Linked DNA regions of Homo sapiens: all the other regions are linked to region 3. Evidence: promoter capture Hi-C in 16 types of primary human blood cells and fetal thymus (Javierre and others, 2016). All regions are on one chromosome and are shown on one strand. Each heading gives the region's core, a stretch centred on a gene start or on the middle of the fragment in contact. The rest is flanking DNA. Distances are from core to core; before and after follow the strand shown.

The links. Contacts are between HindIII fragments. The CHiCAGO score rates a contact against its expected background, and 5 or more counts as called.
Region 1: a fragment that was not itself captured here is called in contact with the fragment with the promoter of KCNQ5 in region 3 in 10 of 17 cell types (M2 macrophages, non-activated CD4 T cells, M1 macrophages and 7 more); the score reaches 9.6 in M2 macrophages.
Region 2: a contact is called between a fragment that was not itself captured here and the fragment with the promoter of KCNQ5 in region 3, in 1 of 17 cell types (M2 macrophages). The highest score is 5.2, in M2 macrophages.
Region 4: a fragment that was not itself captured here is called in contact with the fragment with the promoter of KCNQ5 in region 3 in 4 of 17 cell types (M2 macrophages, M1 macrophages, megakaryocytes and 1 more); the score reaches 8.6 in M2 macrophages.
Region 5: a contact is called between a fragment that was not itself captured here and the fragment with the promoter of KCNQ5 in region 3, in 1 of 17 cell types (M0 macrophages). The highest score is 5.9, in M0 macrophages.
Region 6: a contact is called between a fragment that was not itself captured here and the fragment with the promoter of KCNQ5 in region 3, in 17 of 17 cell types (megakaryocytes, M0 macrophages, M2 macrophages and 14 more). The highest score is 21.9, in megakaryocytes.
Region 7: a fragment that was not itself captured here is called in contact with the fragment with the promoter of KCNQ5 in region 3 in 1 of 17 cell types (M2 macrophages); the score reaches 6.0 in M2 macrophages.

Annotation. Positions count from the first base shown.
Region 1 is chr6:73,075,337-73,078,587 of GRCh38, forward strand. KCNQ5 (potassium voltage-gated channel subfamily Q member 5) reads left to right here. Exons shown (of 14, transcript NM_019842.4): 4 at 1,986-2,161; 5 at 2,426-2,551. Among named protein-coding and RNA genes, the nearest start is that of KCNQ5-AS1, 67 kb to the right of the region's middle. RefSeq lists an enhancer at 735-1,667. The HindIII fragment of the contact is 5,940 bases long and covers 1-3,251 here.
Region 2 is chr6:73,013,145-73,016,665 of GRCh38, forward strand. All of the region lies in intron 2 of KCNQ5 (potassium voltage-gated channel subfamily Q member 5), which reads left to right. Among named protein-coding and RNA genes, the nearest start is that of MIR4282, 47 kb to the left of the region's middle. The HindIII fragment of the contact is 3,138 bases long and covers 5-3,142 here.
Region 3 is chr6:72,620,391-72,623,644 of GRCh38, forward strand. KCNQ5 (potassium voltage-gated channel subfamily Q member 5) reads left to right here and starts at 1,674. Exons shown (of 14, transcript NM_019842.4): 1 at 1,674-2,197. The coding sequence starts at 1,800. KCNQ5-DT (KCNQ5 divergent transcript) reads right to left here and starts at 2,289. Exons shown (of 3, transcript NR_186827.1): 1 at 2,142-2,289. RefSeq lists enhancers at 59-248, 2,359-3,254 and silencers at 1,669-1,928, 2,959-3,008. The HindIII fragment of the contact is 6,363 bases long and covers 630-3,254 here.
Region 4 is chr6:73,032,757-73,036,359 of GRCh38, forward strand. All of the region lies in intron 2 of KCNQ5 (potassium voltage-gated channel subfamily Q member 5), which reads left to right. Among named protein-coding and RNA genes, the nearest start is that of MIR4282, 67 kb to the left of the region's middle. RefSeq lists an enhancer at 1-642. The HindIII fragment of the contact is 1,396 bases long and covers 1,170-2,565 here.
Region 5 is chr6:73,052,146-73,055,331 of GRCh38, forward strand. The region is part of intron 3 of KCNQ5 (potassium voltage-gated channel subfamily Q member 5); the gene reads left to right. It also overlaps the pseudogene PGAM1P10. Among named protein-coding and RNA genes, the nearest start is that of MIR4282, 86 kb to the left of the region's middle. The HindIII fragment of the contact is 2,350 bases long and covers 495-2,844 here.
Region 6 is chr6:73,115,460-73,118,855 of GRCh38, forward strand. The region is part of intron 7 of KCNQ5 (potassium voltage-gated channel subfamily Q member 5); the gene reads left to right. Among named protein-coding and RNA genes, the nearest start is that of KCNQ5-AS1, 26 kb to the right of the region's middle. The HindIII fragment of the contact is 4,782 bases long and covers 1-3,396 here.
Region 7 is chr6:72,984,364-72,987,481 of GRCh38, forward strand. The region is part of intron 1 of KCNQ5 (potassium voltage-gated channel subfamily Q member 5); the gene reads left to right. All of the region lies in intron 2 of LOC105377855 (a long non-coding RNA gene), which reads right to left. It also overlaps the pseudogene KNOP1P4. Among named protein-coding and RNA genes, the nearest start is that of MIR4282, 18 kb to the left of the region's middle. The HindIII fragment of the contact is 3,310 bases long and covers 1-3,025 here.

The sequences.
Region 1 (3,251 bases), core at 184-2,683, 450 kb after region 3:
CTCAGCCTTCCAAGTAGCTGGGATTACAGGCACGTGCCACCACACCCAGCTAATTTTTGTATTTTTAGTAGAGACAGGGTTTCACCATGTTGGCCAGGATGGTCTCGATCTCCTGACCTCATGATCCGCCCACCTTGGCCTCCCAAAGTGCTGGGATTACAAGTGTGAGCCACTGCGCCCAGCCTAGTCTCAAATTTTTTTCCTAGTCATATACTAATATATATTTCTATTAAAATAAAATCACATTGTACATACTGTTTTGCAACTGGCCTTTATTCACTTAAAATATGTCTTTGGTGTCAGTGTCAACACATTTAGTTCCTTCTTGTTTCCAACAGCTGCCAAGAGTGGTAACTCTCTTTGGCTCTCTGGGTACTTACCCACAAAAGCACATGCATTTAGAGCTGGTGGAAAAAGTCCTTCAGGGCGGACACCGGTGGCTCACACCTGTAATCTCAACTCTTTGGGAGGCCAAGGCTGGCAGATGATGTGAGCTCAGGAGTTCGAGACCAGCCTGGGCAACATAGCAATACCCCATCTCTACAAAAAAATACAAAAATTAGCCAGGCGTGTTGGTGCATGCCTGTAGTCCTAGCTCCTTGGGAGGCTGAGGTGGGACACAGAGGTTGCAGTGAGCAGAGCTCATGCCAGTGCACTCCAGCCTGGGTGATAGAGTGAGACCCTGTCAAAGGATGGAAAGAGGGAAGAAAGGAGAGGAGAGGGGAAGAAGCCCTTTGGCTGAAACTTGCACTGCCAACAACTGACCCCCCCTCTCTCTCAAAGCACTGACCCAAAAAGGGGCACCAGCAGAGAGGCTCAGAAGATCTTCTCAGTCCACACCAGGAGACCAGACCTTTCTCAGTGCAGGGAGAAGGATGAGCTGAATGAGGAATACTCACTTATACAGCAGTTAATCCAGAGGATGACAGAAACATTACAAATGTGACATCCTTGAAATGGAACTCCTCTTTGGAGTGTGGAAGCCCAGTCATGCACAACCCACTTGGAGCAGGAAGGAAATTGTATTTGAGGATGTTAAAGTCAAGCTAACTTTTATTAAAATTGCCACAGGAGGCCATTCATCCCCACTTCACTTATCCCACTTCAAAGCCTACTTCCCATCACTCAGATGTTTACTTATGGAGTGATTAAGTTTTCTTTTATCTTTTCTATGCTTTCATCAGATGCTCTTTTTCTCTTTTTTGCTTAGAAAAGGCAGATTTTTTCAGCCTAATGTCAATATGTCAAACATTAAGTATTCATTCCCTTGCAATGCACAGTGTTTATACTTACATACCCTATTATAACAAATGTAATATTATTTAATTATGCAGCAAACTTACACATAATTGGTGAACAGGTCTAAAGAATACTCTATACAGGAAGCATAGAGTATTCAGCTTAGCTGAGGCCTTTGTTAAACAATATGCAAAGTTGCAGGTGCCACATTAGGGAATTTTGGGGGAAAGGAAATGCAAACTTATTTGGCAGGAAAACAAGAGAAATGATTATATCTCACAGCACTTTCAAGCTGGACACATTTACATGCCTCTGTCACATCACCCAGAAGCTGTGGTGTTGAGGGCTGAGGCAGGAGATCCTTTTGCCACAGGAAAAAGGATGAAACGAGAGACATTGTGAAAGGTTGCCCCAAAGTCTTAAGGCTCCCTGAAACCTTGGGTTTTTTGAACACCATTGTCCAATCTGTTGAAGGTTAAATAATACGTTGTTCAAAATTGCATAGGTAAAGCGCAGAATGGCCAAAGGGTCAGAACTACAGCAATAGGTAGGTCCCATTCTCTGCCTTTTCATTCTTCAGTCTTCGGAAATGCCACAGAGGCCAAGTGGCACTAGGTGCAGCTGGGAATCAAGATCTGTTTATCTGTACCTTAAATAGGTCAAAGTGAACCTTTTGGAAATATTGTTTTGGTAAATAAAAATTCCTGGTCGTGCTAACTGTGGCTATTTCGACCTGTTTCTTTCAGATACCATTGTTCTTATCGCTTCAATAGCAGTTGTTTCTGCAAAAACTCAGGGTAATATTTTTGCCACGTCTGCACTCAGAAGTCTCCGTTTCCTACAGATCCTCCGCATGGTGCGCATGGACCGAAGGGGAGGCACTTGGAAATTACTGGGTTCAGTGGTTTATGCTCACAGCAAGGTAAGATTTGCTCTCTGAATTTAAAAACACAATTTTTGAAACTTTTTCATTGATCGCTGTAATAGTTAATAAACCTGTCACAAGAAAACTTAGTCATTGCAGAAAATGGTTAAAACAATTTTGGGACATGATGTACAATGGATTATTTAAGAGCCATCATAAACATCCAAGAAGTAGTAAAGTGAATAGAATCCTCATAGAATTCTTTTTTCCTTTTTCAAAGATTTCCCACCTCTAAAAATCTTTCATTCCTTTTATATCTAGGAATTAATCACAGCTTGGTACATAGGATTTTTGGTTCTTATTTTTTCGTCTTTCCTTGTCTATCTGGTGGAAAAGGATGCCAATAAAGAGTTTTCTACATATGCAGATGCTCTCTGGTGGGGCACAGTAAGTATAAAAATACATTTTTTATTTATTGGATGTTGTGAATTGTTTTTTTTTAATACAACGTAATGGTTCCTATGGATGGTTTCAATAAAAATATTAAATTGCGAAAGAGAGTTATATGGAAAATAAATACTACTTATTATTGTCTAAAGGCTTTCCACATCTTTTTAGGCCAACTAAGTTGTCTTGTAAACCATCATTAATATTTCTTGAGTGCTAGATTGTTGCCAAAATTAAAAATATATAAAATATATAAATATATATCATTTTTAAAATGGTGATTAAAACATTGATAGTTTGTTTATTTGTTTTAACTTTGTGGAGCACAAATTTAAATGATCAATTGTTGCATTGATTTTCCGCTCTTCAAAAGTTTATCTGGGGTTAAAAAATGAATGGAAGCTGTGAATAAAATTGCAGCACAAAGAAATGAAAAAGAAGACTGGTAACCATCTGTGAGATCAGAGATTATAGTCACCTAATTTCAAAACTTTCCTCTCAAAACCTACTTTTTCTTTATATTATTAAAGAATAATTTTCCAAATAAATAAAGTAAAATCATGATTCTTACATAGAAAGAAAATTAACACATGCTAAACATTCATTTAACTCATTTTAAAAGTTTAAGTCATTATTAATGAAGAAACCAGTAAGATGTTAAAACCAGTTCAAAGCACTATCCAAAGGACAGAAACATTTA
Region 2 (3,521 bases), core at 324-2,823, 390 kb after region 3:
TGGAAGCTTGCTACATAAACATGTTCTCTAAAAGTGACTCAGTGGTACACATTCGGCATGCAGCATGTGTTCACAATAGCCACTTATTTCTGGTGGCTAATGAAACTGATTTCAATTGTTGAAGCATTTTAGTAAATACGTCTGATGACAGTGCTTGTGGCTTTATATCTCTTCTCTCGATGTCTGCATCTACTGAGTGAAACATTGGGCAGGAATAACTCCAGATCTGATGGACTTGCTTGCTCTGCCATCACCCTGGTGATAAAATTTGTGAACTCAAGAACGTGTATGAAACTGTGTGTCCACATTCCAGGGACAGTTAAAAGCTGGTGTTAATTTCCTATATTTGGTGATTCCATCAAAAATGAAAGGGAGCCAGCATTTTTTAAGTACCCTTCATTTATTAGGCTCATTGATTTCTTACTAGAAAAATAAAACTGGCAATGTAAGTATCCCCTCCCATTTTCACAAATAGCTAAATAAGTTGTGCAAGATAACACACCAAGTGTAAAATAGCCAAGATTCCAGCTTAGGCCTGGCTGAGGAAAAGACTGGGCTGTCTTCAGAGCATCCCGCTGCCTCTCATTCTCTTGCTTCTTTCAAGGCTGACAAGTCTACCAAAATGCATTTGCCAGTACCCAATGAAGTGCTCATGTCTAAGGCTTCTTTTTGTTCCATATATGCCAAATAAGGCTTACAACACTTTTACTTAGGATGCTGTGCTTTCATAAAGAGTTCCACTTACCAAGTTATCACAAATGGGTATATCAATTCAGACCACTAGAAGTTCTTTGTACTGAGAATTCTAAATTCTGTTTTGCAAATATTCAAGAGCCTGATTCATGGGGTAAATAGTCAAGTGTAAAAGTTCATCTTCTAGCCCCAGTTCACTTTGCTCAGGTGAGTATCATGCTGTTGAAGTGAGTTCTCCTATTTCCAGGTTAGACTATTGTGGTAAGTTTTGTTTGGTTTGTTTTGATTTCATTAGCCAAAGGTTGTAGGTTTTAGCATTGTATTTCCCACCTTTTTGAGAACAATACTGTCTGGAGTGCATTTCCTCTCTGTTAAAGAACTTCTTGCCATCCAGATTAATTTTAAAGTATTTATTTTAAGTTTTTAGATGAAAATTGTCCATCATGTTGAGAAAAGAGAACTCCATTTGATGAAAGTGATGCATATTATTTGCAAAATTCTTATTGCAGGTTATCATTTCTAAAAGTGCCCACCCATAAGCAGTAAAAGGAATGCCACTATCAATTTTAGCAAGACAGAGCCTGTCTCAGTATATTTGCTCCTGTACCCTCCTGCTGTGTTAGAAAGACTCCAAACTACAAATGGATCGTGCTCAGCATCTGGATGAGTACTCTATCCAGGCTTTCCCAAACATCCAGATGTTTGACAGCTTCTACATATGCATATTTTCTCCTTATGCTTCAGGTAGCAAAGTAAACATGGGTTTATTGTTTCCCTGCACAGTGACTCTGCTCCTGAATTGTGTACAAACTCAATTTAGGCAGGTCTAATTATATCTTAAATGTACTAGTGGAGCTTACTATTTAAAGAAAATCTATAGGGAATTCTTTTGTAAAGTGAAGCATCCCCTTGGAAAGGTAATAACAGCTACATAATTTGTTACATGTTTGTTTTCTTTTTAATGCGGGCACATGCATTTTTAATTGCTATATAAATATTCACTATATATATATAACATGGTATTGAAGAATTAGAGACATCATTGCCACTTCCTATATACCAGTATTAACGGGGGAGGGAAAAATCAGCCACAAGCACATTTACTGGTCCTTGCAAAGTAGAAAGGTTTGCACATGAAATTGTAAGGGTTTGATACAGAATGAGATGACAGTAGTCTTTACATTTAAAACTTCTGGTATTAAATATTGTAAGAGAGGATAACAGAGTGTAAGGATAAGAATCCATTCGAGGATATTAAATCTTATGTTTGTAAAGGCAGTAACGCAGTATGAGATATGAAGCAATCAGATGTGAGGAATGAGCAATGCTTCTTTAGATTTATCACATCCCTATAATTTACTGCAGAAAGCTCTCAGAATATCCCAATGAACATTGAAAACTGCAGTTATTTTCCTTTGCTTTTCTTTCATCAAGGAAAAATGCAAATAAACTCTAAAATGATTCACAGAGACTAACGACCCTCATCAATCTGCCGATGACTGAAAAGAAAAAAGCAGGAATAGTTAAACACCTACACTGAACCTTAACAGAAGGATAATAACATAGTAAGTTGCCCCATAAAAAGTATTTCAGATATTAGAGGAAAGAATTTTTGAAGCTAAAGATAATGATTGTGCCTGAAAAAGACCATGCCTCTATCTACAATTAAGGAAGGAAAGAATTTTCCATATTTTTATGCAAACATTGATGTCTAACCAAGTGGTCCAGGCTATGCTACCAAACTCTGTACAACTTTGTTTCAAGACTTGACAGGCTACCCAGCAGACATCCTTAGAGCTATAAATGAGCCATATTCAACCAGGTCCACACTGATGTTTAGCTCTTATGCCCTTTTGAGCTTCACAAAAGTATATCTGATGGAGAGAGAAAGAGAAACAAGGTAGTATGATAAATTTTACAGGGTTACTGGAAAATAAGTCAAAATGTTTGTCAGTAGAAGGAAAAACACCCTTCCCTTACTATCTTTCCATGCTGTGATCATTTCCATCATTTGAAACCTGGACCAAATACCTCCTCCTTCCTGAAATAAACTTTCTTTCCTCTAACTTTCCTCAGTCCTGTCTACTTGACATTGTATCTTCTCCATTATTCATTTATTCAACAAGATGTATGCAGTACCCAATAAGGATGAGGCATTCTTTTTTAAGAGCTGAGGAGATAGCAATGAACAAAACAGCCAAAATCTCTGTTCTCATGGAGCTAATGTTTTTGTGGAAGACCTAGAATAAACAAACAGGAAAATCAATATATTAGATATTACAAATAAAAGGAAAGCAAGAAAAAGGAATAGGTAATGAAGGAAAGTTTAGATAGTATGTTTAGAGAAGTCCACTGAAATGGGTGGCAGAGACTTGAATGGAATGAGGCGATGAGGCATGCAAAGATTAGGGAAAAGAAAATGCCAGGCAGATAGAGCTTCAAGGACATAAGCTTTAGACAGGAGCATACCTGGTGAGACAAGGAAGGGCAAGAAGATGAGCAACTGAAGGAGGGTAAGCCAGGGTTGGGAGAAGTGGAGAAAATGAGGCACCAGTTGAACTGTAAATTTCCTGAGAAGAGAATCCAAAGCTGACTCAGTGACACCACTTAATACAGTAATAGTTGGTGGCAAATCATCAGTAAATGAAAGGAGATGGCCCATTTAATTATATAACACTAATATTGACATGTTCATGGAATCATGGATATGGCACCAAAATTCAGACAATATGCAGGACCTGACTTTAGAATGGACTAGAGCAGAGAGTAATAGGATGGGGGACATTTAGGAAGCAGGTGAAGTTATTCAAGTAAAACACAATAGAGCC
Region 3 (3,254 bases), core at 424-2,923:
TGCACAGAGCTCCCAGCTAGCTTCTGCTGCCCAGAGGCTTGGGGGGAAGGAGGGAGGGAAGCAGGCTCCTGCTGGTGACCAGGAGCAGGCGAGAGGGCTTCACACAAATAATAGTGATAATAAAGAGTAAAAGCAAAGCATTTAAATCGAGCTATTGCAGAAGACAGAAATCAGCTGCCGCGGGCGTGGGTGTGTGTACAGGGTGGGGGAGAATTGGGAAAGTATTTATCTCGGAGGGGCGGAGACAGCTGCAAGAAGACTTTTGTCTTAGCATTGTTTTAGCCTTAGGAAAGGAAAAGGCCCGAAGGAATCCACCTTGCAACTATCTGCTATGTCTTTGTGGTGGAAGCTTAGTTTTGCCTTCAATTTAATTTGATGATTTTCTTTCATATTTGGGGAAGAGCCACTCTGTTGGAAGAAGTCCCCGAGCCTGGCACCCTTCAGTTTTCCCTATGCTGAATGTGAGATTTAAACTGCCTTTTCTTTGTAATACACTGTTTCTGAAGGCCAGAGGCTGCGGCCAGTGGCACCGTGGCCTCTCTCTCCGCCAAGGGCGCATAGGCTTTGGGCCACCCGGGTGCCAGGGGTGGTGGAAGACCCAGTCAGTTGTTCCTTGCAACAGGTCTCTAAGCTTGTATGTTACAACATAAGGTGGGTGGGGTCGGAACCCCGAAAAGCCGGCGTCCTGGACACCCCATCCTCCAGGTGTTCTTTCCCAGACACTGGGTCCTCGCCGCCGCTGCTGAACTTCTCAATCATATGACTTTCTCGGACTTAAATGGAAATTTCTTGACGGAGGGAACTGGGTTTGTTCTCCCAGGCTTCGCGCTGCAGTCAGGCAGAGCCCCGGGGCAGCTCGCTCACCGCGGAGGAGCCACTTTGGAGTTTTACGCCCTTTCCACACCCCACCCATGGACTGGAAAGGATGTTCAGTTACTCGCGAGCTTGTCTGATACTGGGATGGAAAGTCACAGTCCGCAGGCTGGAGTGAGGCGCGGGAAGATGCCTGGTCCTTGCCTCGCGGACTTGGCAGCCGCGTCCTGCGGGTCTGTCCACTGAACTGCTGAGGACTCGCCCGTGTGCGGGGACCCGAGTGCCACTTCCCGGAGCGTTACCTTGCGCTCCAGCCTCCAGGCTAGATAATACCTGGAAGGCAGGGCAGGGCTGTTCCCGCTCTCACCCCTTGCGGAAGGATGGCAGGATCCGGCGCAGCGACGTAGCAGCGGGAGGGCACAGCGACCTGCATCTCCAGTTTCTCCTCAGGACACAAGGCTGACTTCACCTTCCGGACAGCTGCAAAGCCCCTGCCAGAACCAAACCGAACTCGCGCCTCGGAGAGGGGCTTCTGGGGCCGTTTCGCTGCAGGGCGTGGGGAGTGGAGAGAGGGAAGGGGAAGCCTGGGGCTGGGTGTGCGCGCGTGGGAGCGCGCCTCGGAGCGCCCCGCACTCCCCCACTCTATCCCCGGGGGCAGTTTGGGAAGGAGGGAGTGGTAGTCGCGGGAATGAGGGAGCAAGAGAAACCCTCTCAAAGTGACGCCCCAAACAGGTCCGGATTTAGAATTCGAAGCTAAAGGCTGTTAGAAATTGGGACTCCTCGGCCTCCTCTGCAGCCCCTCCTTTCCCGCCCCGAAGCCCGGGCGGTTTGCTGGCTGCCTGCTTCCCCGCCCCCGGCTCAGAGGTCTCTGGCTGGCGGGCGCCCCGTCGGCCGCCGGCTTCCTCCTTGAAACCCGCCGGCGCACATGAGGCCGCTGCCCCCGCCGCAGGCGCTGGCGGCCCCCTCGCGGTGCCCGTGGTGATGCCATGCCCCGCCACCACGCGGGAGGAGAGGAGGGCGGCGCCGCCGGGCTCTGGGTGAAGAGCGGCGCAGCGGCGGCGGCGGCGGGCGGGGGGCGCTTGGGCAGCGGCATGAAGGATGTGGAGTCCGGCCGGGGCAGGGTGCTGCTGAACTCGGCAGCCGCCAGGGGCGACGGCCTGCTACTGCTGGGCACCCGCGCGGCCACGCTCGGTGGCGGCGGCGGTGGCCTGAGGGAGAGCCGCCGGGGCAAGCAGGGGGCCCGGATGAGCCTGCTGGGGAAGCCGCTCTCTTACACGAGTAGCCAGAGCTGCCGGCGCAACGTCAAGTACCGGCGGGTGCAGAACTACCTGTACAACGTGCTGGAGAGACCCCGCGGCTGGGCGTTCATCTACCACGCTTTCGTGTGAGTACCCGCGCCCCCTGCTATGCCCGCTGCAGGGGACCACTGTCCCTGGCCCCCTGGGGCGTGCTCCGCGCTCGCGCCCTTGGGCCCCCGCGCGCGTGCACACGTGGTGGCTTTTATTTCTTCGCACGTGTTCGTGGTCTTCCTTCTGGAGCCTCTCCCCTCCCCCAGCCCCACTTCTCTCATCTCTACAGCTTGAACCTTTTCCCCGAGGACACCCAATGAACTGCCCGGTAGCTTCAGGCTCCCGGGGCGAGAGCCAGGCAGACGCGGGACTTAGGCTGCGCGGATAATTGGGAGCAATTAGGTCCCAAGATACGTAAACTTCAACCGAACGGGGCGCCCGGGAGCTAGGGAATGCAAAGGGAGGACAGGCGCCCGTGTGAGGCTTGAGAGTATACTGGAGAGGTTAGGAGGTGATGGCGGGGTAGGACGGGGAGAAGTGAGGGGGCATCGAGGGCTAGGTCCTCAGTCCTAGGGGCGGAGTAGGGGAAGCTGCTACTTGGAGAGAGCTGCTAGGTTTTAAGCGCGCCCGGAAACACGCCTCGCCACCACCCAGCCACCACCAACGGAAAATCTGTCAGTGCATGTAGCCCTTCCTGCCACGGAGAAGGTGGCCAAGGTCTAGAGGAGGCCAGCAGGCCAGGCGAAGCAACGCTCCCGCGCTGCAGGGGGCGGGGAGGCAGCGGGGAACCTGGGGCGCAGGAACGCGGGCGGAGGTGCGATAGCAGAAGCGCAAATGGGTCGCCTCTGACAGAGATCGGGCAGTGGGTTAAGTCCCCGTTTGTGGCGCGGAGTCAAAGAGTGTGTGTGTGTGTGTGTGTGTGTGTGTGTGTGTGTAGTAAGCCTTCTCCATCTAGCAGAGAATGCTTAATGAGAAAATGATTGGAAGCAAATGTTTATTTTTCCCTTAGGCATTTAAAACCTTTCAGTGGCTTTAAAGTTTACTACTGTTTTTCCCACAAAGTCCATTCATTCAGTCTCCTATTAGAGTTACGTTTATCTGGGCATTTTAAGGTTGTTTTTATAATGTTACCTCGTGTCTAATTCTTTTTTT
Region 4 (3,603 bases), core at 618-3,117, 410 kb after region 3:
GGGCATGCAGACACACCCAAATAGAAACCTCAAACCAATTAAGGTATAAATAGGTTTAGGATGGGGGAGGATGGACAACAAAAAAAACCTCAGTAAGGCTCCTCCACAAAGGGCACCACTTCAGCTTGGTCCCATGGGCAGACTTCACCTGTGGCAGGTGAAGGGGAAAGCCTAAGACATCCTGTGCCCTGATGCAGATGTGACTTACAGAACATAAAACGTAAAGGCAGAAGGGATCATCTGGGTGGCTGCTCATACTAGGCAGGCATTATAGCTGCTGACAAGAGCCAACCCATCCCTAAGGATCTAAAATCACTACAAGAGAGGACGGAAGTCCTCTCATCATGGCATCCCAACTAGTAACTGGGATGCATAGGGCCACTCCAGGTAGGCAGCGAGGGGTAAACCAGGAATGTCCTGCTGTTCCCACCTCTTTTCCCCAAGCAGGGGGCACCCACTTCCTGCCTCCAGCCCATATGGTCTCAATTTATGGCCTCAATACCTGATAAAAAACCAGCCGTGATCCTTCCTTAGTAACAAAGTGTCAATCAGTCATTTGGAATGGGGCATTTTCAAACTATTGCCTCCCTATGATCTTCTGAAGAACCTCTGGGATAAATGAACATTGTTATTTAGGTATGGTTAAATGAATTACTTTTCAGGAGCAGATTTATATATTAACAGGTGTGAAAAACTTGAATGGATAAATCATTTATAAAGAAATTTCAGGAATCAACTAATCCCAAGGGGAAAGACCCACTAAGACACTAGATTTTGCTGGAGCTACTCAAACAAATTCATCTATCATATCTACCTAAGCCTTCCAATCAATGAGACTAGCCGCAGTGACACTGTCTGTCAAAACTACCTCAGTCATTTTTTTCCAAGGCAGGAAGCATCCATACCCCTTCACACCTTAATCTAATTTCCCCTATCTCCACCCCACTCCCACTTCTATGACCCCCTTCCCCCCATACCCACCCCCGAAGCATCTACTAGCCAACTTAGTGAAGTTCTGTCACGCTCTCACAACCACCTCTGTGCAGCAATGATTCTGTAAATATCCATGTGTCCTCAACACCAGGTCAAATTAGTCCCTTTGGTAAAAACATTCATTCCCTCAAATTCTCTTCCAATACACTAATATACCTTCCCAAAAAGTAAGGAGAAGCTTGAAAGCTAGCTGGATTGATGATGGTATGTGATGTTCTATAAGTTATAGTTAGTAAGCATGTTTTTAGGATATTTTTCTGCTCTCCAAAGAGACACAATTCCGGAAGATATTTACTTTTGTGTATTTCCACATTTTGGTTTAAGTTTGGAGCCATCTCTAGATCTTAATTTCATTCCCCTAATATGTGTTATACTAGTAGAATTTTCCAAATTACATAGAATTATAACTGCAACTCTTCTGACTGATGCCTTTTTTTTGCATTTTATGATGCAGTTTACATCACAAATTCTTTCCCTGCAGGGATTATGTAAAGAGGCATGTTGACCTGCTAGCCCTATGTTACTTTAAGTATATGCACACACACAAAAAGGAACAAAAACAGCTGGGAATTGATTATGTTGATATTCTGAATAAAAGCAATAGTTCTAATTATGTATGTCTAATTAGCCACAGCTCTTCAAGAATTGCTGCAAATGTCACAGGGTTTATAATGTCGGCATTTCATCTTCACGAAAATGCTATTTGATGGCATAAAACCAGAAAAAACTAATGGTCACAGAAGACAGCTTGTAGATTAGACAAAGGTCACTGTGTTTTAATGAACAGTGCTGTTAATTAATGAGAAAACAACTGGTACATGAGCTTTTAAGCATTGTGAATTTGTACCCAAAAAATCAATCTGCCTAAAACAATTTTAAGTAGCTAAAAAACAAAATAACGGCAAGAACATAATTTAAACCTCAAATGGTACAGCAGAGTTATATGTATCAATTAAATTGAATCACAGTTCTCAGGTGTGACATATGAAGAGGCTTCTTTAATGCCTGGAAAAGAGGGTTAATATGGATTGGTATTCTCAATACATATTGTAGATAAAATTCAAGACTAGCTCTACCACTGCCTCTTTTCTTTTTTTTTTTTTTTTTTTTTTTTGAGACAGTATCTCGCTCTGTTGCCCAAGCTGGAGTGCAGTGGCATGATCTCGGCTCACTGCAAGCTCCGCCTCCCGGGTTCACGCCATTCTCCTGCCTCAGCCTCCTGAGTAGCTGGGACTACAGGCGCCCGCCACCACACCCAGCTAATTTTTTGTATTTTTAGTAGAGACGGGGTTTCACCTTATTAGCCAGGATGGTCTCGATCTCCTGACCTCGTGACCCACCCGCCTCGGCTTCCGAAAGCGCTGGGATTACAGGTGTGAACCACCGCGCCCGGCCACCACTGCCTCTTAGGCTTCTTAATTTCCTTATCATTTAAGAAGAATAAGAAAATTCTTCTATGTTTTACCAAAATTCTGTGAGGACAAATGAGGAACCATTGTAACTCCTACAAGGTGAGTGATAAAAATAATACACATTTATTGTCTTTGCTTTTGTAAAGAGTTATCCAAGCCAAGCTTCTAGGGGCTTAAATAAGGAAGGACAGGACCATTGTTAATAACATCAAGTTTCCACTACAGCTTTCCTCCAAACAAGTCAAATATTCTGAATATTATTCACTAATCTCTTTAGCTGCCATTTCAGTAAATAGCGAGCATTTTATTTCAACTAAAACCAAGCAAGAGAAAATGAACTGCTTTATCCTGAGGTACAGCAGCAAAGGCACCAGAACTTGTCTCATGGCTTACCCAGCAAGGGTCAGAAGAACCATCCCTAATTTAAATCATCTCGACTGAATGTAACAGATTTTTGTATTTTCAACTCATATGAAAATAAAACAATGAGACCTCATCCAAAGGGTGATTTAGAGAGTACCTCTAAACAAAACACAGTGAAAATAGACCCAGCATCTGGATTTGAAGAACACATTTCCTCTTACGAGTCTATCCCATTGTCTAGATTGCTGGCAATGGCTTTTTTAAATTTAAATTGTTATTGAGATAATTGTAGATTCACATGCAGTTGTAAGATATAGTAGACATACCCTGTGTATACTTTACCCAATTTCCGCAAAATGTAACATTTTGTAAAACTATAGTATAATATCACAACCAGGATAATAATATTGATACAGCTCACAAATCTCATTCAGATTTCTCCAGTTTTACTTGAATACATTTGTGTGTGTGTGTGTGTGTGTGTGTGTGTGTGTGTGTGTGTGTGTATTGGCTCTGTACAGTTTTATCACTTGCAGAGATTAGTATATCTAAAACAACAATCAAGATATTGGACAGTTCCGGCCGGGCACGGTGGCTCACTCCTGTAATCCCAGCACTTTGGGAGGCCGAGGCAGGCAGATCACGAGGTCAGGAGATCAAGACCATCCTGGCTAACACGGTGAAACCACGTCTCTACTAAAAATGCAAAAAATTAGCTGGGCGTGGTGGTGGGCGCCTGTAGTCCCAGCTACTCGGGAGGCTGAGGCAGGCGAATGGCATTAACCAGGGAGGTGGAGCTTGCAGTGAGCCGAGATCGCACCACTGCACTCCATTC
Region 5 (3,186 bases), core at 420-2,919, 430 kb after region 3:
TGAATATCACTTCTCTGAAATAACTCAGTCAGACAAAAATAAAGAAAAAAAGATTAAAGAAGAATGAACAAAATCTCCAAAGTATGGGATTATGTAAAGACACCAAATCTATGACTCACTGATGTCCCTGAAAGAGAGGGAGAGAAAGCAAGCAACTTGGAGAACATATTTCAGGATATCATCCATGAAAATTCCCCCAACTTCACTAGAGAGGCCAACATTCAAATTGAGAAAATGCAGAGAACCCTTGTGAGATACTATACAGATAACCATCCCCAAGACACATACTTGTCAGATTCTCTAAGGTCAAAACAAAACAAAAAATGTTAACAGCAGCTAAAGAGAAGGGGCAGGCCACCTCCCAAGGAAACCCCATCAGGCTAACAGCACACCTTTCAGCAGAAACTCTATAAGCCAGCAGAGATTGAGGACCTATATTCAGCATTATTAAAGAAAAGAAATTCCAAACAAGAATTTCATATCCAGCCAAACTAAGCTTCATAAATGAAGGAGAAATAAGATTCTTTTCAGGCGAGCAAATGCTAAGGGAATTCATTACCATCAGACCTGCCTTATAAGAGGTCCTAAAGAGAGTGTTAAATATGGAAAGGAAAGATTATTACTGGCAACTACAAAAACGTGCTTAAGTACACACACCATTGATGCCAAAAAGCAACCACACAAACAGATCTGCATAATAACCAATTAACAACACAAAACAGGATTTGATCCTTCAAATCCACACATATCAATATTAACCTTAAATGTAAATGGGCTAAATGCCCAATTAAAAGGCACAGAGTGGCAAGTTGGACAAAGAAGCAAGACCCAACAGTATGCTGTCTTGAATAGACCCATTTCACATGCAGTGACACACATAGGATCAAACTAAAGGGATGGAGAAAAATCTACCAAGCAAATGGAAAACAGAAAAAAGCAGGAGTTGCTATTCTACATTCAAACAAAACAGACTTTAAACCAACAAAAATCAAAAAAGATAAAGAAAGGCATTACATAATGGTAAAGGGTTCACCTCAAAAGGCCAGACTTAACTATCCTAAATAGATATGCATCCAAAACAGGAGCACCCAAATTCATAGAGCAAGTTTTTAGACACCCACAAAGAGATTTAGATAACCACACAATAATAGTGGGAGACTTTAACATCCCACTGGCAGTATTAGACAGGTCATTGAGGCAGAAAACTAACAAAGAAATTCAGGACCTGAATTTGACACTTGACTAAATAGACCTAATAGACATCTACAGAAATCTCCACCCAAAAACAGGAGTGTATATATTCTTCTCATCTGCACATGGCCCATAATCTAAAATTGACTAATCAGCCATAAAACAATCCTTAGCAAATAAAAAAAAATCATACCAACCACACTCTCAGACTACAGTGCAATAAAAATAGAAATTAATGGAAATTAACCTGCTTCTGAATGACTTTTGGGTAAACAATGAAATTAAGGTAGAAATTCAGAAATTATTTGAAACTAATTAGAACAAAGATACTACATACCAGAATCTCTGGGACACAGCTAAAGCAATATTAAGAGGGAAGTTTATAGAGCTGAATGCCTACATCAAAAAGTTAGAAAGATCTTAAGTTAACAACCGAACATCACACCTAGAGGAAATAGAGAAACAAGAGCAGATCGACCCCAAAGCTAGTAGAACACAAGAAATCAAAATCTGCACTAAACTGAAGGAAATTGAGACGCAAAAAAACATACAGAAGATCAATGAATCCAGGACTTGGTTCTTCGAAAGAATAAATAAGATAGATAAAATGCTAGCTAGACTAATAAGGAAAAAAAGAGAGATCAAAATAAACACAATCAGAAATGACAAAGGGATGTTACCACCTACCCCACAAAAATTTAAAAAACCCTCAGAGACTACTAAAAACACCTCTATGCACACAAACTAGAAAACCTAGAAGAAATGGATAAATTCCTTGAAACATACAACCTTCCAAGATTGAACCAGGAAGAAATTGAATCCTGGACAGAGACCAATAATGAGTTCCAAAATTGAATCAGTAATAAAAAGCCTACCAACCAGAAAAAGCCCGGGACCAGAGGGATTCACAGCTGAATATTACAAGAAGTATAAAGAAGAGCTGGTACCATTCCTACTGAAACTATTCCAAAAAACAGAGGAGGAGGGACTCCTCCCTAACTATGAAACCAGCATCATCCTGATACCAAAACCTGGCAGGGACACAACAACAACAAAAAACAAAACTTCAGGCCAAATCCTTGATGAACATAGATGCAAAAATTCTCAATAAAATCCTAGTGAAATGAATCCAGCAGCACATGAAAAAGCTAATCCACCACTATCAAGGAGGCTTCGTCCCTGGGACACAAGTTTGGTTCAACATATACAAATGAATAAATGTGATTCATCACATAAACAGAATTAAAAACAAAAACCACATGATCATCTCAATAAATGCAGAAAAGGCTTTTGATAAAGTTCAACATCCCTTCACGTTAAAAACCCTCAACAAACTAGGCACTGAAGGAACATACTTCAAAATAATAAGAGCCATCTATAAGAAACTCACAGCCAACATCACAGTGAATGAGCAAAAGCTGGAAGCATTCTTATTAAACACCAGAACAAAACAAGGATGTCCTCTCTCACCAGTCCTTTTCAACATAGTACTGGAAGTCCTGGCCAGAGCAATCAGGCAAGAGAAAGATATAAAAGCCATCTGAATAGAGGGGAAGTCAAACTGTCCCTGATTCCAGTCAGTATGATTCTATGCCCAGAAAACCCCATAATCTCTGCTCCAAAGCTCCTTGGTTTGATAAACAACTTCAGCAAAGCTTCAGGATACAAAGTCAATGTACAAAAATCAGTAGAATCCCTGTGCACCAACAACATCCAAGCTGAGAGCCAAATCAAGAATGCTATCCCCCAAGCCTGCCACCATGGCCACCTACAAACTGGTGCAGATCCAGCACAGCGAGAGTGAGTGGAACCTGGAGAACCACTTCAGCGGCTGGTACGACGCCATCCTGAGCCCAGCGGGCCATGAGGCGGCAAAGCAGGCACGGCGAGATGCTGGCTATGAGTTTGACATCTGCTTCACCTCATTGCAGAAGAGAGCGATCCCGACCTTCTGGACAGTGCTAGATGCCATTGATCAGATGTAGCTGCCAATAG
Region 6 (3,396 bases), core at 130-2,629, 490 kb after region 3:
ACCAAAAACTTCACACCAAGATTATCACAGTAAAATATCAGAAAACTTACCAAAAGGGGATCCTAAATGCTTTCTGAGCAGGACAGAGCCAAAGGAACAAGAATAAGGATGACATAGGATTTCTCATTAGTAATCCAAAAATTAGAAGACAATGAAACAATACTTTCGAAATTATAGAAATTATTTTCAACCTAGAACTCTATATCCAGCCAAACCACCATCAAGTGTGAGAGCAGCACCAAGGCACTTTTAGGCATGCAAGATCTCAAAAATTAATCTACCATTTACCTTTACTCAAGAAACTTTGTAAATAGAACTTCTCTTCCACAACAAGGGGATAAGCCAAGAGAGAAAGAGACATGGAGTCAAGAAAACAAGAGATTCCGCACAGGAAAGAGCAAAGGGGATTTCTATGATAATAGGGAAGGGAAGTCCCAAGACAACAGCTATGCAGGCCTTGAGAACAGAATGAGAAGGAGGCTGAGAGCTCCAGGAGAAAGATCTTCAAGGAAGCGAAAGAATGGAGTTCTCAGATTTCATGATGCATTTGACCAGAGGAATTTTATAGTTCTGTTGGAAAGATCTGGAATGTAATCATAACAGGTACATATATGCAAATCAAGAAATTAAAATAGGGCAATTATAACTCCAAAAAAACCAAAAACTTGTATAAGAAAGAAAGAGCAGCCATAGTACATCACATTGCTGAACTGGGAACAGCAGTTACATTGTCATAATAATATTAAATAGTAACTTAGCTAAGAATTGTGATATTAAAATGTTGATAGGATGAAAGGAGGGGAAGAGGGCATGTAAGTGGGCAATATCATTATCGTTCAGGATAGGAAGTTAATTGATAATGTCTAAAATTGAAAAATCAAGAAATATAACTATAAGCATAATCCTTAAAAATAAGCATTCTTGGCTGGACGCAAGTGGCTCATGCCTGCAACCCCCGCACTTTGAGAGGCTAAGGTGGGAGGATCACTTGAGGCCAGGAGTTCAAGACCAACCTGTGCAACATAGCGAGACCCCACCTCTACAAAAAAATTTTAAAAAGTCAAGTGCAATGGCACACACCTGTAGTCCTCACACACCTGTAGCTACTCAGGAGGCTGAAGCCAGAGGATTGGTTGAGCCTGGGAGTTTGAAGCTGCTGTGAGCTATAATTGTACCACTGCACTCCAGCCTGGGTGATAGAGTATGACCCTGTCTCAAAAATAATAATAATAATAAATAAGGATTCTTAAAAATAGAAGCAACAACTATAAGAATTGAAGGGGTTGCCTCTGAGGAACAGAAAGTAGTGTGAAGAAAGATGTGGAAAGGGATTGCTGGTTCATAGCCTAAAACTTTCAGGACTTTCACATTTTAAACTCTGTACCTTGAAAAAATAAGCTCTGTGTTCATTATTCCTTTGGATGGTCAGCTGAAACCTTCTAAACCATTTCCAGTAAGGATCAAACATGCCATAATGGTAATACTTGCAAGACAAACAAAATACTCCCAAAAAAACTGAATTATACTGGCCTTGTACTTATTGAGCAAAGTCCAAATCTCTTTGACTGCCTAGAGCACCAGCATCACCTGATAAATGGCAAAGTTGGCTCTCATTTTGCTTCTTGTTGATTTGTCCTTTGAATTGTATACACCATGTAAATTAACCATAGGAAATCCCTCTAAGTGTTATTTTTCTCTTGCCAACTACTGTGTGATTTTGGCTTTAAATATAGGAACATCAGCTACTGGATCACAGGGATGTGGGTTCAAAGTTCAGCTACTAGAAACAATTTGCTAAGAGAGACCTAAGAACAAAATAAAGTTATTAGAGTGTAACGGGCATAGAGTTCCACTTTCCACCTTCATTTTTACTGTTAACTAATATCAGCCATGTGACAGATGCCACCTGCACCTTCCATACCTCTCATTTAAAAGGCATTTTTGGGAGATGAGTAATGAAGGGAACAAGAGCTTAGCTGTTGGGATCAATTTGAGAGAAAAATAGCAAGACATCAGGTCTCATTGTAAAGAAAATCTTTAATTTTCTCAGAGTGGCCTCTTTTGCCCCCAGTTCTTTATAACATTCACAGGCAATGCCTTGGTCCCATTCTTTTGTTGTTCTGTTGTTTTGGATTTTTTCACTGGTATCTAATAATGTGCAGACCTGCCATATGCTTCTAGTTCTACAGGAGTCTTGCTTTCAATGTATCAAAAATCATATATGTGTGACATCTTCTATGGAAATTGTTTAATTAAGGCAGCCGTCTGTGTCATCACAACATTAGAGGATCTCTGGGCATCACTACTACAGAAGAAGCTGCAATCCTAAATCCATGTGTTTTCCTTAATTATTCTAAATCACTCTATAAATTGTGCAGGTATAATATTTGCAAAGATTAACATTTCAAGATGATGCAACAATAGTTGCATTATATAAGATGTCAAGATACTTAGCACAAATTTCCACAGATTTGTAGATTAAATCAGCATGAGCCATGTAATGAAGGCAAGGAACTTTGGTTCAATCATTTAAACCTTCCTCAAAAATATAAAAAGTCCCTCAGTTTCTACCACTATATTTTTCTAGTTTTTTTATGTCACTTTCTGAAATTTCATTGAAGTACAATGTGCATGCAGAAAAGAGCACATATCTTAGGAGAACTGAGCACACCTGCATAACCAGCACTCAGATAAACAGAGCAGGACCTCCTGTGTACCCCTTCGCAATCACTATCCCATAAGGATAACCACTGTGCTACCTTCTAACAGCGTAGAATAGTTTTCCCTGGTTTTTGTACGTTATGGAAATGTACTCCTTGGTGTCTTCTTTTTCTCACTCAACGTTATTCACATGAAGTTCATCCATGTTGTTGTGTGTAGCTATATGTACTATTGCCATATAGTATTGTACTATGTAAATGGTGTCACAAATTTTCTGTTTATTCTACTGTTTCTGGGTATTTTGGAATTTCCAGCTTTAGTTTATTAGAAACCAACATATAGTACATATCTTTTAATGAACATATATAAGCATATATTTTGAAAATATACCTAGGAGTGTGTAGTTGTATCATAGGATACTTAAATGTTCAGCTTTCATAGAAACTTCCAGTTTTCCCAAGTAGTTGTGTGAATTTTTAACTTTTATTTAGCATACATTTATTCAATGATATTCTCAGGAAAAGGAATATTGTTAGATCACATTTTCTTCATTATGGATTTCACAATCATGACTGATGTGTTATGTACTAGGGATGTGGCCCATTTAAATGAATTGGTCTGCCAGGCATGGTGGCTCATGCCTGTAATCCCAGCACTTTGGGAGGCCGAGGTGGCAGATCACCTGAGGTGAGGAGTTCAAGATCAGCCTGGCCAACATAGTGAAACCCTGTCTCT
Region 7 (3,118 bases), core at 121-2,620, 360 kb after region 3:
ACCCAGTTTGAGCTTCCAGGCTGCTTTGTTTACCTACTCAAGCCTCAGCAATGGTGGATGCCCCTCCCGCAGCCAGGCTGCCGCCTCACAGTTTGATCTTGGACTGCTGTGCTAGCAGTGAGCAAGGCTCCATAGGCGTGAGACCCATCGAGCCAGACATGGGATATACTCTCCTGGTTTGCTGTTTGCTAAGACCATTGGAAAAGCCTAGTATTGGGGTGGCAGTGTCCCGATTTTCCAGGTACAGTCTGTCACGGCTTCCCTTGGCTAGGAAACGGAAATCCCCCCACCCCTTGTGCTTCCTGGGTGAGGCAATACCCCGCCCTGCTTCAGCTCACCCTCCATGGGCTGCACCCACTGTCCAACTGGTCCCAGTGAGATGAACCAGGTACCTCAGTTGGAAATGCAGAAATCACCCGTCTTCTGTGTCGATCACACTGGGAGCTGCAGACCAGAGCTGTTGCTATTCGGCCATTTTGGAACCAATCCCAACAATTTTTTTTAATAACAGTAAAAACAAGAAATTCGAAGCCCTGGAGAGGGCCTATAAGAAAAGCAAGAAGTCAGGCACAGTGGCTCACACCTGTAACCCCAGCACTTTGTGAGGGCAATGCAGGAAGATCACATGAAATCAGTAGTTAGACCAGCCTGGGCAACAAAGTGAGACTGTCACTACAAAAATTTTTGTCTAAATTAACCTGGCATAGTGGCATGTGCTGGTAGTCCTAGATACTTGGGAGGCTGAAGCAGGAGGATTGCGTGAGCCCAGATGTTCAAGGCTGCAGTGAGCTATGATCTGGCCACTGTACACCAGTGTGGGCGACAGCGCAATATGTTGTGACACATGCACCAAAAAAAAGAGAAGCAAGAAAGAACGTAGGAAGAAATCAATCTTGTTCACCCAGAAATTCTCCAAAGAACTCAGATTTTTTACTCTGTGTTTTTAAATATTGAGAAAATGGAAGGCATGTAACTAACAGCATATTTTTAACAGTTTAAAAAACCACAGTCATCAAGAGTAATTTCAGATGAGCTGAAAACCAGATAAACCACAACATTCCCCTGTCCCCAAAAAGGACTTTTTTAAATTACAGGAATAGAAAAGAAATAATCCTACTTGTTGGTGGTCAGTATTGTTACAGTAACACCAAGAGATCAGAGCTATGAAAATCCTAACCTCTTCCTAATTTTCCATCAAAAAGCCTGATTTTCCACCACAGAATGCAAATGAAAACCACAATGATATTTCATCTCACACTAGTCAGAATGGCTAGTATTGAAAAGTCAAAAACAACAGATGCTGGTGAGGCTGTGGAGAAAACGGACAACTTATATCCTGTTAGTGGGAAGGTAAATTAGTTCAACTACTTTGGAAAGCAGTTTAGAGATTTCTTAAAGAACTTAAAGCAGAAAACTACCATTTGACCCAGCAATACCATTACTGGCTATATACCCAAAGGAAAATAGATCATTACACCAAAAAGACATATGTACTCCTGTGTTCATTGCTGCACTATTCACAACAGCAAAAATATGGAGTCAACTAGCTGCCCATCAATGGTGGATCGGATAAAGAAAATGTGGAGGCTAGGTATGGTGGCTCATGCCTGTAATCCCAGCACTTTGGGAGGCCAAGGCAGGTGAATCATGAGGTCAGGAGTTCGAGACCAGCCTGGCCAACATGGTGAAAGCCCGTCTCTACTAAAAATACAAAAAATTAGCCGGGCCTTGTGGTGGGCACCTGTAATCCTAGCTACTCGGGAGGCTGAGACAGGAGAATCGCTTGAACCCAGCAGGCAGAAGTTGCAGTGAGCCGAGATCGCACCATTGCACTCCAGCCTGGGTGACAGTGTGAGACTCCATCTCAAAAGAAAGAAAGAAAATGTGGAACATATACACCACGGAATACTACACAGTCATAAAAAAGAATGAAATTGGGGTCACAGTGGAGCAGGCTCTCATGTGGAGGTGGGGAAGTTTGGTCCATCAGAATGATCACCAAGAAACACAAAGCAGACCTGGGCCCTGGGCTCCCAGAGAAGAAAAAGAAGAAGAAAGTGGTCAAAGAACCAGAGACTCAATACTCAATTTTAAACAATGATGATTACTTTGCCAATGTTTCTCCTATAAGAGCCACATCCCCCTCTAAGAGTGTGGTCCATGGGAAGGCACCTGAGATGCCTCTAGTGAAGAAAACAAGTAAAAGAAGGGTGTCAGCACCCTTTGTGAGGAGCACGTAGAACCTGACACCACGCTGCGTGCCAGACGGTCAGAGAAGTCACCCAATCCCAGGAAGCAGGTGCTTGGCCATTTGGAGTTCCTCTGTGGGGAGAAGAAAAAGAAGAAGTCACCTCCAGCCATGTCCCATGCCTCTGGGGTGAAAACCTCCCCAGACCCCAGACAGGGTGAAGAGGAAACCAGAGTTGGCAAGAAGCTCAAATAACACAAGAAGGAAACAAAGGGGGCCCAGGACCCCACAGCCCTCTCAGTCCAGAACCCTTGGTTCTGCGAGGCTGGGGATGCTGCGGACACTTGCTCAGTGGGGAAGAAGGGTGAGGAACAGGCAGCCTTGGGGCAGATAACGGAAGCAGAAGAGCCCCAGGGAGCACAGTGGGAAGGTGAAGAAGAAGAAAACAAAAATCCACCAGGAGGGAGATGCCCTCCCAGGCCACTCCAAGCCCTTCAGGTCCATGGAGAGCAGCCCTAGGAAAGGAAGTAAAACGAAGCCAAAGTTGAGGCTCCGGAATACATCCATCCCCAAAGGAGATGGCCCTAAGGCCCCCGAGAAGAAAAAGATGAAGTCCAAGAAGGTAGAGCAGCCAATCATTGAGGAGCCGGCTCTGAAAAGGAAGAAAAAGAACAAGAGGAAAGAGAGTGGGGCAGCAAGAGACCCTTGGAAGGAGGAAACAGAGACGGACTTAGAGGTGGTGTTGGAAAAGAAAGGCAACATGGACGAGGCGCACATAGACCAGGTGAGGCGAAAGGCCTTGCAAGGAGAGATCGATCGAGAGTCAGGCAAAACGGAAGCTTGTGAAACCAGGAAGTGGACGGGAACCTAGTTTGGCCAGTGGGATACTGCTGGTTTTGACAACGAGGAACAGAAACTGAAGTTTCTCAA